Regions from separate parts of the Homo sapiens genome. Here all the other regions are linked to region 1. The links are contacts of gene promoters, found by promoter capture Hi-C in blood cells and fetal thymus (Javierre and others, 2016). All regions are on one chromosome and are shown on one strand. The core of a region is centred on a gene start or on the middle of the fragment in contact, and the rest is flanking DNA. Distances in the headings are between cores, read along the strand shown. Region 1 overlaps HACD2 (3-hydroxyacyl-CoA dehydratase 2). Region 2 holds the start of POGLUT1 (protein O-glucosyltransferase 1). Region 3 holds the start of SEC61A1 (SEC61 translocon subunit alpha 1). Region 4 holds the start of CHCHD6 (coiled-coil-helix-coiled-coil-helix domain containing 6).

Region 1 (3,133 bases), core at 421-2,920:
CGACTGCAGCAGCGAAGGGGAATGGGGGCGGCGGTGGCAGGGCCGGGGCCGGGGACGCCAGCGGCACGCGGAAGAAGAAGGGCCCGGGGCCCCTGGCCACGGCGTACCTGGTCATCTACAATGTGGTGATGACAGCCGGGTGAGGCTGGGGCTCGGGGAGGCGGGGAGCCAGCGCGGCCGGGGAGGGAGCCCTGCGGCCAGCGGCGGGGCGGATAGGATCGGCGCGGCCCGCCGCAGGCAGTGCATTCCCGGCGGGGGGTGCCCGGGACCCGGTACCTGGGCGCTGAGGGCGGCCGAGCGCTGAATCGGCCCCGGTGGCTGCCCGCGAGCTCCCTCCTGCGCTGGGGGTCGAGCCAAGTTCCCAGGCACTGGGGCGCGGGGACGGCTGCCGGGCGCTGGCTCGCGAGGGCCGCGGGAGGAAAGGTGGGGCTGGCCACAGGTGCGGGGCCGGGGGCAGCGGCCGGACTACCTGCGGCGCGGAGCCCGTCCTGGGCGGCCAGATTCGGATGTTGAACGGCGCCAGCATGGGGAGTGGAGGAGCTGTGGCTGCAGAGTGACCATTCATTTGGGCGGCTGTTTTCAAAATCTGGGCTGCGCTTTAATCTGAAAGGTATTGGGAAAGCGTTCAAAGTTTTTGGCCAGCGACATGAGCAGAGCTAGGCTTTAGATGAGTTTAGACTTTTAGGATGGGTTGGGGTGGGGAAGAAACTGGGGAGTAGAAGGCAGAGTTACTGGAAAGGGGGAGAATGGACCCTCGAAACGGTTTTACCCATCTTCTGTCTCTTTCATTTCAGTGCATCCCTTATCCCGGCGGGTTTTTAGTTCAAGCTCTGCCACTAACTAGCTGTGTGACTTTGGATAAATCATCTTATTTCTCTAGCCTCCGTTTTTTCATTTGTAAAACTAAAGGGTTGGTCTGGGTGATGAAGGTTCCTTCAGCTCTGCAATTCTTTATCTTGTCATTTTGGTGAGGAGGATCACAGCATCAGACAGTTATATATTTTTAAGTTATCTTCATTTGTAATTTTTTAAGAAGTCCTAACATTTTATTATGAAAAATTTCAAACATACAGAAGAGTTGAAAGAATTGTATAGTGAACATCCATTTTTATTTAAAGTAGGTGATACATTGTTAGGGTTAAAAATGAAAAACATGAGGGAATACAGTGAAAATCTTTCCTCCCACCTTTCCCTTCTACCCAGCTCCCCTCCCTCGAGGCAGTTAATTTTGTGTATCCTTAAGATGCTGATGCAAGCAAATATGTTTATACATCCCCCTATCCCTTTTTAAAATAAGACAAATGCCAATATATTAATATTTTTACAGTTCAGCACCTTGCTTTTTTTTCACGAAGAAGAAAATATATCGTGGGAGGATCATATATGTATTGCTAGTATTAGAAATGGTAGGTGTTGGAACCTAGGCTCAGAGAAGTTGTGACTTGCATGAGATCATAGAACTTGTTAGTAGAAGTTCCAGATCTAGAAATCATTTCTCTTGACTCACAGGTCAATGAAGAACTAGTACAGATACAAGCTTTATATCACATCAGTGGTCACATAGATTGATTTTTAAAAAAACATCCAGGAATCTCACTGTGTGTATTAATATTTATATATAAAATTCTTGTTGTCTTAGCAAGAGCCGGTGAGGGCATTGGACTGGAGAGGGATTTTGAGGTACATTGGTAAGAAGAAAGAAGTCTATTCCTGAGCAATGAACATAGAGAATGGGGTGGAGGGTAAGGAGTGGTATCTTAAACCAGGAAGATAAATTGGGATTGTGAGAGCAAAGTAAGCTTTTTTTTTAAGGCTGTTAATGGTTGTACCAGTTACACCATTAAATAATTTCTTCTTTTACAAACTCTTACTTGATGTCCTTATGTGATAGTTTTTGGAAATAGCATAGACCACACACACCCCATTGCCTAGTTGATACTATACATTTATCTAAATCCTTCCAGGAGACATACCTTAATAAAAAGGTCCATTTGTTTTATTATGGAACTTAACAAAACATTGTGTTTATTTTTGAGAAGGACAGTGGAACAAAAATATAACATTCACAGCTGTATGCTTAAGTGCTTTCCTGTTTCGTGGTTTGTATTGATCTGGCTTTCATTTCTGCATTGATTTTAGGAAATTTGGCTAAAAAACTTTTTTTTTTTAGCAAGAGCCCTTTATTCGTAATTTTAAAAGGATAGATTTTAAGGTATGGGTAATTGTTCCAGTGAGACAATTATAACAATAGTTTAAAGCATCTTCTTTCCACCCTGTAATTATTAAAAACCCTTTAACTGCACAGGCTGTTTAAAATTTTCCTTTAACTGTTTTTTTCTCGTCTTAGATTTTCTTGGCACCTGATTTAGTGGCACAAGGACCATTTTAGCTTATTCCTTTCCTTTTGGCCTTGATCTCAATAGCAAAGTTGCCAAAAAAATGAGCTCCAGATGGGTGAGGTGCCACTATGCTTTCACTGAGCCCTCTTGGTAAGGTGCTGTCGGTGTTGCAACATTTCAGTGCATTACAGCTTGGCATTTGAGAGCTATCGTCCATAAATCCAGGTTACTCATGCTTGAGGTCACCTTTAGCAATATCTTTTATTGCCACAGCTGTGTGTTAACCTAAATGCTACTTTTTTTATTTTTATTTTTTCCTGATTGCTGTTTTCTCTTTTACTAGGTGGCTGGTTATAGCGGTTGGTCTGGTCCGAGCATACCTGGCTAAGGGTAGCTACCATAGCCTTTATTATTCAATTGAAAAGCCTTTGAAATTCTTTCAAACTGGAGCCTTATTGGAGGTAGGTCCTGAGATTTATTGTTGTTATTGATTTCCATTGGTATGAAGAAAAACATGCAACTAAATTATATTGAAGTAGCATACCCCCTTTGGATTCATGTTAAATTTTGAAATTTTGCCTCCTCACATACTAAAGTGTTGATACCTAGGCTTTTTGATGTTCTAGATTGGGTAGAATCTCATTTAACTTAGGTTACCTTGAATGTATTTTATATTCGACTTTTTTGGGAAATCAACTGAAGCAAGCTTATATTAGGATTTTTAAAAATTCTAGGGACATCCTGGGGAAGCACTGGCAAAATCAGATGCTTTCAGGGTTTATGTAATAGAAATA
Region 2 (3,096 bases), core at 224-2,723, 4.1 Mb after region 1:
CCCAGCTAATTTTTGTATTTTTAGTAGAGACAGGGTTTCACCATGTTGGCCAGGCTGGTCTCGAAATTCTGACCTCAGGTGATCCACCTGCCTTGGCCTCTCAAAGTGCTGGGATTACAGGCATGAACCACCATGCCCAGCCTGATGTGCATTTTCTAAAGATAACCATCAGGAAATTTAGGACTAGATTCAGCGATAGATGGGTTTATTTCCTCAACAATATTTATCGAGCACGCACTGACAGCTAGCACCAGGGAGACAACAGCAAATAAGACACAGACCCTGACCTCAGGAAGCTTGCAGCCCAGTGGGAAAAACAGATGCACATGCACTGAATCCCGCAGTGAGTCAGTGGTTAGGTTGACACCACCTGAGCCTTTCCCATGCGAGAGCATTTTTATTCCCCAGAAATAGAAAAACATCCTTGCCTTTCTGACCACTGCAACCAAAATCTCTCAAGGATGTTAGAATACTTCCTGTGACAGCAACTAAACTCTCAAAGACACATCAAAGAAAAGAACTCACCCATGGTAGCAGCTGCAGTTTTGACTTGAACATGGTTCGTAATTCTCCAAAGACCTGTTAATTTGGTCAATAAATACTTTCCATTTTGAACCTTTAAAAAGTGAAGTAAATGAGAGTTAAAAAAATTTTCCTGAATGTTATTTGCTGACACCACACCAACAGAAGAAACAGAAGACCAAAACTTTCAGAAATCCCCTTCCCATCCCACTGATGGAAACGAAACGCTAGGGAGGAATTTTTGTGTGTGCAACTCCCACGCTCACGTCAAGTCTGTTCCTCTATCCGGCTGTCAGGTGTCCAAGAAACTGGAAAATTCCCAAGCTTAATGCTCAACCCTCAGAATGCTATGGATAGTGACGCGGACTCTCACTTTCTACTAATCAAATTGAACTCCACAAAGAGGATCAGTTAAAAGCTACAGACATTAAACCCCTCTTCTCTTCTGGCAACGCATATACACACACGCTCGCGCGCACGACATTTGCCCCCATCCCCGACCCCTCAGTGTTTCAGGCAGGTCCAGAGTAGCCAAGCACGGGCCACGCCTCCTGCGGGTGAACGGGGAATTCCCTCTCCTCCCTGTCATTCTGAATTCCGGGGAATGGGTTACTCTCCAGGGTCCAGAGCAGGAGCAGAGACCCCGGCACCTCACTCTCCGCCGCAAGGCGCCCCGGTGCCTTCTGCCCAGCTCCGAGCTACAGCGGCCACGGCATCTTCCCGGGAGCCGGCCGCGCGGGGGAGCGCCTCGGGACTCCGGCCAGACCCCGAGCCCAAGGGGCAGGCTCGGCACTGCCCGGAGCCCACCTGACTCCTTCTGGCGGCCCTGCGCTGAGGGCAGGAGGAACAACAGCAGCCAGAGCCGAAGCGGCGAGCTAGCCCACCACTCCATCGCCGGCAGACCTACTGCAGATTCCCCGCTGCGGCGCTGGCGGAAGCGCGGCCCCGCACAAAGATGGCCCGGGAGCCGCAGCACGTGGGCGGCGGGTCGCCCCGCACAAAGATGGCCACCGTGGCCCCACCACCCTTCCTCCAGTCCCCAGCCTTGAGGCGGAGTTTCCCTGAGAAGGCTGCGCCGGGAAGGTGGGGAGGATAAACGAATGGACCAGTTGCCTATCCTCCCTCCCTGGCACCCCTGGGAAAATAGGTCTGCAGCCAGAAAACTGAAGGTCAGAGAGGGTATGTTTCACGGTTAGTGGCACAACCAAGACTTGGCATAGAGCCTAGGCCAAACAGTTCTTCTCTTGACGTCAAATTGCCTCTTATCAAATAGCATAAATTTGTTGAGCATGTGTGTGTGTGTGTGTGTGTGTGTGTGTGTGTGTGTACAGCACGGTTAGACCCCAAAGGTTGCAATTAGCATAGCAGGGATCCCTTTGTAATAGGAATTTATAACAGTTGGGGTGACTTAGACGTAGGAAAAAAGATCAATGGTGTTAAATAAAGTTTATGGGAGGTCGTTGTTTTGGACAGAACTCTGGCACTAGGCCTCAAGAGAGCAGACAAAACCAGAATGGAGGCAACTTGTCCTAGGTGCTGCGTAATTAAACTCAGCTTTAAAAGGGGTCAGTTTTCCAACAAATAGGAGAAGGGGCCCATATACCTGAGCTGGCATGATAAAGAAGTCCCCTCTGATGTAACTCTTTGAGGAAAGTAACTTCAAAATGACCAATCTGCTTTTTGTTCCTTATTTCTGCTTTCTTCAGCCCTTTTCTGCCTATAAGCCCAACCCCTTCTGCTCAGCTCATTAGAACACTTTTCTGTTTTATAGATGAGATGCTGCCTGATTCATGAATCACTAATAAAAGCCAATTCGATTTTTTTTTTTTTTTGAGACAGAGGACAGTCTAACTCTGTTGCCCAGCCTGGAGTGCAGTGGCACAATCTTGGCTCACTATGACGTCTGCCTCCCGGGTTCAAGCAATTCTTCTGTCTCAGTCTCCCGAGTAGCTGGGATTACAGGAGTGTGTCACCATGCCCGGGTAATTTTTGTATTTTTAGTAAAGACAGGGTTTCACCGTGTTGGCCAGGTTGGTCTCAAACTCCTGACCTCAGGTGATCTGCCCACCTCGGCCTCCCAAAGTGCTGGGATTACAGGCGTGAGCCACCATGCCTGGCCAAGAACTTTAAACTAAATTTGATGAAATTTTGTTTCTTGACAGTGGGCAACATGATACTGGACAATATAGGTATATAGTATAGTACAGGTATATATCTTTATACAGGTATATATAGGTCAGTGTAGATATATTTAGTAATCATAGAACTACAAATATTTATCTATTTTCTTTTTTTTTTTTTTTTTTGAGATGGAGTTTCGCTCTTGTTGCCCAGGCTGGAGTGCAATGGTTCAATATCGGCTCACCACAACCTCCGCCTCCTGGGTTCAAGCAATTCTCCTGCCTCAGCCTCCTGAGTAGGTGGATTACAGGCTTGCGCCACCACACCCGGCTAATTTTGTATTTTTAGTAGAGATGGGGTTTCTCCATATTTGTCAGGCTGGTCTCGAACTCCCGACCTCCGGTGATCCACCAGCCTCGACCTCCCAAAGTGCTGGGATTGCAGGCGTGAGCC
Region 3 (2,839 bases), core at 145-2,644, 4.5 Mb before region 1:
GTCTACCACACTGAGTTACAAGGCCAAGGTCACATAGCTATTAAGGTGCTATGTAAAGGGTGGGACCTAGGCTTGCCTGCCTCCAGAGCCATGCCCCTTCGCTACACTGGAATTGAGGGGGTAAAGCTTTACAAATTCGTCCATTAAAAGCAGCACATGGGCATTTATATGAAACTATTTTACGTAAAAAAATGAAAGTGGATTCCAAGCACCCAAGTGTCCATGTGAATGCTTTAACAACAGTTTGAAAAATAATGTGAGGACACAAACATTTTATTCCCCACTCTCTAACCTAGGAACCTAATGAAACTTTTTTTCGTTGACAGCTGTAGTTACACTGGCAACACTCACTCCACACAATTTCTGATTCAGCACAGCTCTAAATTTAATCTTTCCTTGTTTTAATACACCGTCTGTGAAAAGCAGCAGACTTCACAAAAGAATAGCCTTTATTCCCCCTATTGTGACAGCCTACATAAAAGGTACAAAATCATTTGTAAATACTAAAGTGACAGCCCTTCCCTTTAGCAGCTGGATACAAAGGGCATCTCCTGGGAAAAAAAACCAACCCGTGATCTGCTCCCGTTGGAGGTGAAAAAGGGAGGGTAACTCAATCTGCTATCCTAACTGAGGCCTTATTCATTCATGGCCCGGATCCATTTTTGGGACAGGGCAACCGGAGGCTTTGTTCTCGGAGCAACATCCACCAAAGATGCTCCAAATAAAGCACAGTGATTTCAGTGGAAATTTCCACACAACCAGGTCACCTTTCGACAGCTCTCCGGAATAACAGAGCACAACTACACTCCAAGGGAAGAGAAGGGAGAGTTTCCATTGCCGTGCTGAAGCCATTTTTAATCATACTGTAAACTTCCAGAGTCCAGACAGTTTCCTGAAACCTTCTTTGTTGGCGATTTGGGGTACTTACCTTCCTCTCTGGCTTCTGAATTTCCGGCAGGATGACACAGAAGGGCTTGATGACTTCCAGAAATTTGACTTTGATGGGAGAAACAAAACAGGAAGAGTTGGGACACAGAGAAGTAACCTTCCGCGCTACCCAGGGACGCCTTCTGCCCACGACGAGTGAGAGCAGGGGCCAGGGGAGCCGGCCGCACCCCGGACGCGTGGGGATACTCGAGAAGGGCCGGGGGCACGGGCCGCGTTCTGCAGGGGGCCGGTCAGGGTTGGCCGGCGGGCGCCCGACCGCACGGGTGTGGGGAAGGGGGATCTGTTCCGTCCCGGCCTCAATAGGGCTTCCCTACAGGACTCACTTGCCATGGCGGCGGCTGCTCGGGCTCCGGGTCCCGCTTCAGCTCAGCTCTGCTCCGCGTGAGGCGACGCTGCCCGCGGCCCAGCGCGTTCCACTGCACAGCAGCTCCGCCGAGAGACACGTCAGTGCTAGCCCGGCGGCAAGCGGCGCGGCGCGGCGCGGGGCGGGGCCGGGGCCGGGCCTCGGATCGCTTCCGCTTCCTGCCACGCGCGCCCGCCGGCCGCCGCGCTTCGCCGCGCCGCGCCGCTTCGCCGAGACCTCAAGCCCCGGCATGCAGCGGGGCTCCTGGGGCCTGTCGGGAAGGGGCCTGGCGCGCGGGGCCCGCCGGGACTGGGGGTGTGCGGCTGCGCAGACTTGGTAACGCGAGAGCGCGCGGGGAGGGTGTGTCACGCCTCCCGAGACTGGGGCTGTGCGGCCTCACGGAGAAACTGAGGCAGGCGCGAAGCGTCGAGTGCGCGCGTGGCCCTGCAGGCAGGCGGAGACCCTGGTGGCTCCCATACACGTAACAGCACTCACTGCTCTTTGACGTTAGTGAATAGACCGTAAGCTCCCTGGAGCAGGGACCTTATCCCAGCGTCTACCGCGGCGCCCGTCACCTAGTAGGTCTCCGTCATTACCTGCTGAGTAGGGCGCGGGCTGGTGGGGCTTACCGAGCACCCTCGCTGTCTGAGTCATTAAGCAAACCCGGAGGCTTGTCGTGGGTGTGGGTCCCCTTCCATCTGAGAACGAATGGGATGAGTTTCTGGAGAGACTTGGCCGGAGAAGGGCCGGGGCAGCTCGGGAAGTAGTCTGCCTCACAGAAGAATTCAGGAAGGCCTCCTGGGAGAGTACCTTTGTGCCGAGCCTTGATAGATTCTGGCGAGAAGGAATGAGGGAACAGGTTGAGGAGACTGTTGTGGGCAAAGCATGGCGGTGTGATTGCCTAAGATCGGTGTGGGAAAGGGGGATAACGGGTAGGGCAAGGGATGCTGGGGCTGGGGGTTGGAATTTACTTTCAGGCATCTGTAGTCAGTAGGTATGATGTCATCTAAGAGAAACAGACTTAATGCTGTGAGCATTTAGCAGGGAGGAGGTGGGCACGCCTTGTGGGATCAGGCAAGGTTTCATGGAGCTAAACCTTGACCAGGACAGGTAGAAGTTGAGGGTACATATGTGGCAAGATGCTTTTTTGCTTTTAATTTAGGTGTCAACTATTTGGATTTTTCCATTCTCACCCATTTCTAGCAGATAATCAGGTTTTGTACATTCTTGGCTCAGAAAGTTGGACAGGACAGGAAGTCTTTTTTGGAATACAAACCCACTGGTGGAAAATTCAAAGGACTACTGGGAACAGGCAGGTAACTTCAGTGAAGTGGTCTAGGTGTGACATCACTTGATATCCATCCCCCACCAAAAAGGGGAAAAAGAAGACATTGACTCTTTATTCAGAGTCTGAAATGCAACCCATCTTCACTTCCAGGACCCACTGATGATCTCTTCTGGAGTTTTGGCCTGAAGCTAAAACTGGCAGCCCCTGGACTAAGTTCAGCATATAGACTAGATCCGATATTTAGCCATTATGCACCCTGC
Region 4 (2,767 bases), core at 165-2,664, 3.1 Mb before region 1:
CTGGGTTCATTCATCTCTCCACAGTTACTTACAAAGCACCTGCAGGTGTAGACACAGGTGGAGGAAGAGGCCGAGCACAGCAACATGCCCTGGAATTGGCTTGTTTCAATCCCAGCTCTCCCACTTACTATTTACATGATCTTGGATCAGTTCGTTCACCTCTCAGTGCCTCACTTCTCCTTAATCTACAATAATGGGCTAAATAGGGCTGTTGAAAATTAAATCAGTTAACTTATAAAGGGTTTAGTCCAACGCATGGCCCCTACACTGCAATAAGAGCTGCTTTTATTCTTCTGGGTTCTGGGGACAGTCTTCAATCAGACAGGAACCTTAGCCTCAAAAAGCTTACACTCTAGCAGTAAACGCAATAAACAAGTAAACAATTATCAACAGAAGCGATCACTGTGATGAGTGCTATGAAAATAATAAATGTTGGACGCGGGGTGGGAGGTTACTTCAGATTGGGTGGTCAGGGAAGGATTCTCTGGTGATATCTGAATTACAACAAGAATTACAAGAAACAGCGGGATTTAAGGAGAGCTGAAGGAGAGAGAACAGCCGGCGCACAGACCCTGAGCTGAGCCAGCGGCACCCTCCAGGAAAACACGGCGGTCCTGAGGCTGGGGACGAGGTGCGGGTGCCACGCGAGGGAAATGGCACGAGATGCAGTCCCAGAGGGATGCAGTCCCCAGAGGTCGACGGGCAGCGGCCAGCTTTGGAACCAGGGAAGGCATCATCCAAGCGCGCTAGGAACCCACTGGAGGGTTTCAGGCAAGGAAGGGGATCAGATCTGAGCTATGGTTCTTCCTGCGCCCCGCAGATGTGCTGTGGAGAACAGGCCGGCGGGGAAGAGCTGAGTCCCCAGGCAAAGCCCAGGTGGGAGACACCGCGTACCCAGAACGAGATGCGCGCACCTGAGGGGCCACGGGCTGGGAGGCCGGGCGCAAATTCAAGAAACGTAAAAACTAAGCCGACCGGAGCCAGGACGTGGCCAGGGCGTCCCTCGTGTCCCAGGGGCCTCGCACCTGTACAGTTCTTCACTCCTCCTTCCCTGAAGCCCATGTCGCGAAGCTCCAAGGCTGCCAGCCTCGGGCTCGCGTCTCGGCTCAGCCTCTTCCTGGCCTGAGCCCCCGGAGTCTCCCAAGCCCCACGCCCCTCACGCGTGGAAAGAGCCCCGGCCCTGCGCTCCGCCCCGCACCTCCCCCCCGCGCCCGCGGCCTCCACGCCCGCCCCGGCCCAGGCGGCGCCGCTCACCCGGACACCCTGCAGCACCCGGACCCGCTCCTCCTCGTCCACTCCGAAGGACACCCTGCGGCCCTCGCTGCTCTCCGTGCTCCCCATGGCGAGATGCCGCAGGGCCGGCAGCCACCAGACCCGAGACCCGGCTCCAGAGCAACCGGGCCAACAACGCTTTCCAGGACTCGCGCGGCCGCGGCACACGCCAACAAAGCCACGTCCTATTGGCCGACGCCAGAGGCTTCACCAATCGGGTGGCGCTGAGTCGCGGTGCCTTGTGGGGATTGCAGTCCTTCCGTCTGGAGGGGTGGGGGCGTGGCGGTCTGTGCCTGCTAGAGTGCGTTAGGCTGAGGCCGAAGATGTGTACCGGCGGAGGCCCTGGAGTGGAGGGCTGGGTGCAGGACAGGGTCACGTTCTCGCTTTGGGAGCTCCCCCTTGAGGGAGAGCCAAGGGTGATGTTCTGAGGCCAGGAGACGCCGAGACGGCCAAGGCGCTCATCTGGAGGCGAATTTCTGAGGGTTCACTGCTCCATTCATTCAGCAAACACGTGTAGAGCAGCACGGGCTGAGCGCCAGACGAGCAGGGACCTGGCCCTGGCATTACAGCGCCCCTCAAGACAGCGAGTGTCCTGCCCTTGAGAGGTTTACAGTGCAAGGGGAAAACAAGTGAAAAGCCAAACACGCACGCAAGGAAACTGACTGTAATACACGGAAAACTGCATGGCGATGCCACTAGTAAAATGAACAGAAGGAGGCCTCTTTTAATTTCAGTGGCCAGAGCAACCTCTGAGGAAGAAGCTTTGAACTGAGCCGGCGGGAGAGTAGGATTTATGTAGAAAAAGGTAGGGGAAGAGGTTTCCTGGGAGTCTCAGGCAGGAAAAGAGAAAGAGGGGTCATCCCATGGCTGGAAAGTGAGAAGAGGGCAGAGGAGTGGTGAGGACCCAAATCATGTCGGGTCTTGTGAGGCAGGGTCTGAGTGTGGGTTTTATTCTAAACGCCCCGGGAGGACAGGGAATGGTCCTAAGCCGTTAGGAGGCATTGCCCAAGGAGTGTACATACCATGTGTGGAGTGCAGTGTGCCAGGCATTGTGTGTAGGCTTCTTACACAGGACCCTATGTGTAAGGGAGCACACAGACGGTTGCCAGTCATAGACACTGCTACCTTCAAATAAGCCCCTTTTTGTTCCTCTGAGTTGCTGAATGGCTTTGATTTGCAAAAGTGCGCCTGAAGCCGAGCTGAGGAAAACTAGATGGCTACATGAAATAGCCAGAAAATATTTGGAGCTCCTATTGGCAACCTGGAAAGAAAGGGGTGAGGAGGAGAGAATGATTGAGAGAGAGCAGTAAGGCTCTGAGATTGAGAATAGCTCAGGGTGAAGAAGCTAGTAAACATCCCAGAGCTGGTGTGACGATGGAATCTTTAGGAACAAAGGTGTCTGCTAGTTTCATTCAAAATACTTCATTGGCGCACCCCACTCCATCACCTCTGTCGTCCATTTCTTCCCTATAAGCAGAGCCTGCGTAGGGGATTC

What was found. Contacts are between HindIII fragments. The CHiCAGO score rates a contact against its expected background, and 5 or more counts as called.
Region 2: the fragment with the promoter of POGLUT1 here is called in contact with a fragment that was not itself captured in region 1 in 2 of 17 cell types (naive B cells and non-activated CD4 T cells); the score reaches 5.6 in naive B cells.
Region 3: the fragment with the promoter of SEC61A1 here is called in contact with a fragment that was not itself captured in region 1 in 2 of 17 cell types (total CD8 T cells and total CD4 T cells); the score reaches 7.6 in total CD8 T cells.
Region 4: the fragment with the promoter of CHCHD6 here is called in contact with a fragment that was not itself captured in region 1 in 1 of 17 cell types (activated CD4 T cells); the score reaches 5.7 in activated CD4 T cells.

Annotation. Positions count from the first base shown.
Region 1 is chr3:123,581,879-123,585,011 of GRCh38, reverse strand. It overlaps HACD2 (3-hydroxyacyl-CoA dehydratase 2), which reads left to right. Exons shown (of 7, transcript NM_198402.5): 1 at 1-139; 2 at 2,683-2,800. Among named protein-coding and RNA genes, the nearest start is that of HACD2, 1.6 kb to the left of the region's middle. RefSeq lists silencers at 1-444, 455-634. The HindIII fragment of the contact is 262 bases long and covers 1,540-1,801 here.
Region 2 is chr3:119,467,340-119,470,435 of GRCh38, reverse strand. POGLUT1 (protein O-glucosyltransferase 1) reads right to left here and starts at 1,473. Exons shown (of 11, transcript NM_152305.3): 1 at 1,330-1,473; 2 at 526-616. The coding sequence starts at 1,414. RefSeq lists a silencer at 1,197-1,396 and enhancers at 1,447-1,616, 1,309-1,809. The HindIII fragment of the contact is 3,798 bases long and covers 849-3,096 here.
Region 3 is chr3:128,050,992-128,053,830 of GRCh38, reverse strand. It overlaps SEC61A1 (SEC61 translocon subunit alpha 1), which reads right to left and starts at 1,394. Exons shown (of 12, transcript NM_013336.4): 1 at 1,272-1,394; 2 at 929-996. The coding sequence starts at 1,278. It overlaps LOC102723759 (a long non-coding RNA gene), which reads left to right and starts at 1,656. Exons shown (of 4, transcript XR_007096073.1): 1 at 1,656-1,869. RefSeq lists a silencer at 1,081-1,720 and a cis regulatory region at 1,213-1,829. The HindIII fragment of the contact is 3,738 bases long and covers 129-2,839 here.
Region 4 is chr3:126,702,887-126,705,653 of GRCh38, reverse strand. CHCHD6 (coiled-coil-helix-coiled-coil-helix domain containing 6) reads right to left here and starts at 1,414. Exons shown (of 8, transcript NM_032343.3): 1 at 1,255-1,414. The coding sequence starts at 1,341. RefSeq lists enhancers at 163-714, 1,775-1,834 and a silencer at 1,025-1,224. The HindIII fragment of the contact is 1,689 bases long and covers 347-2,035 here.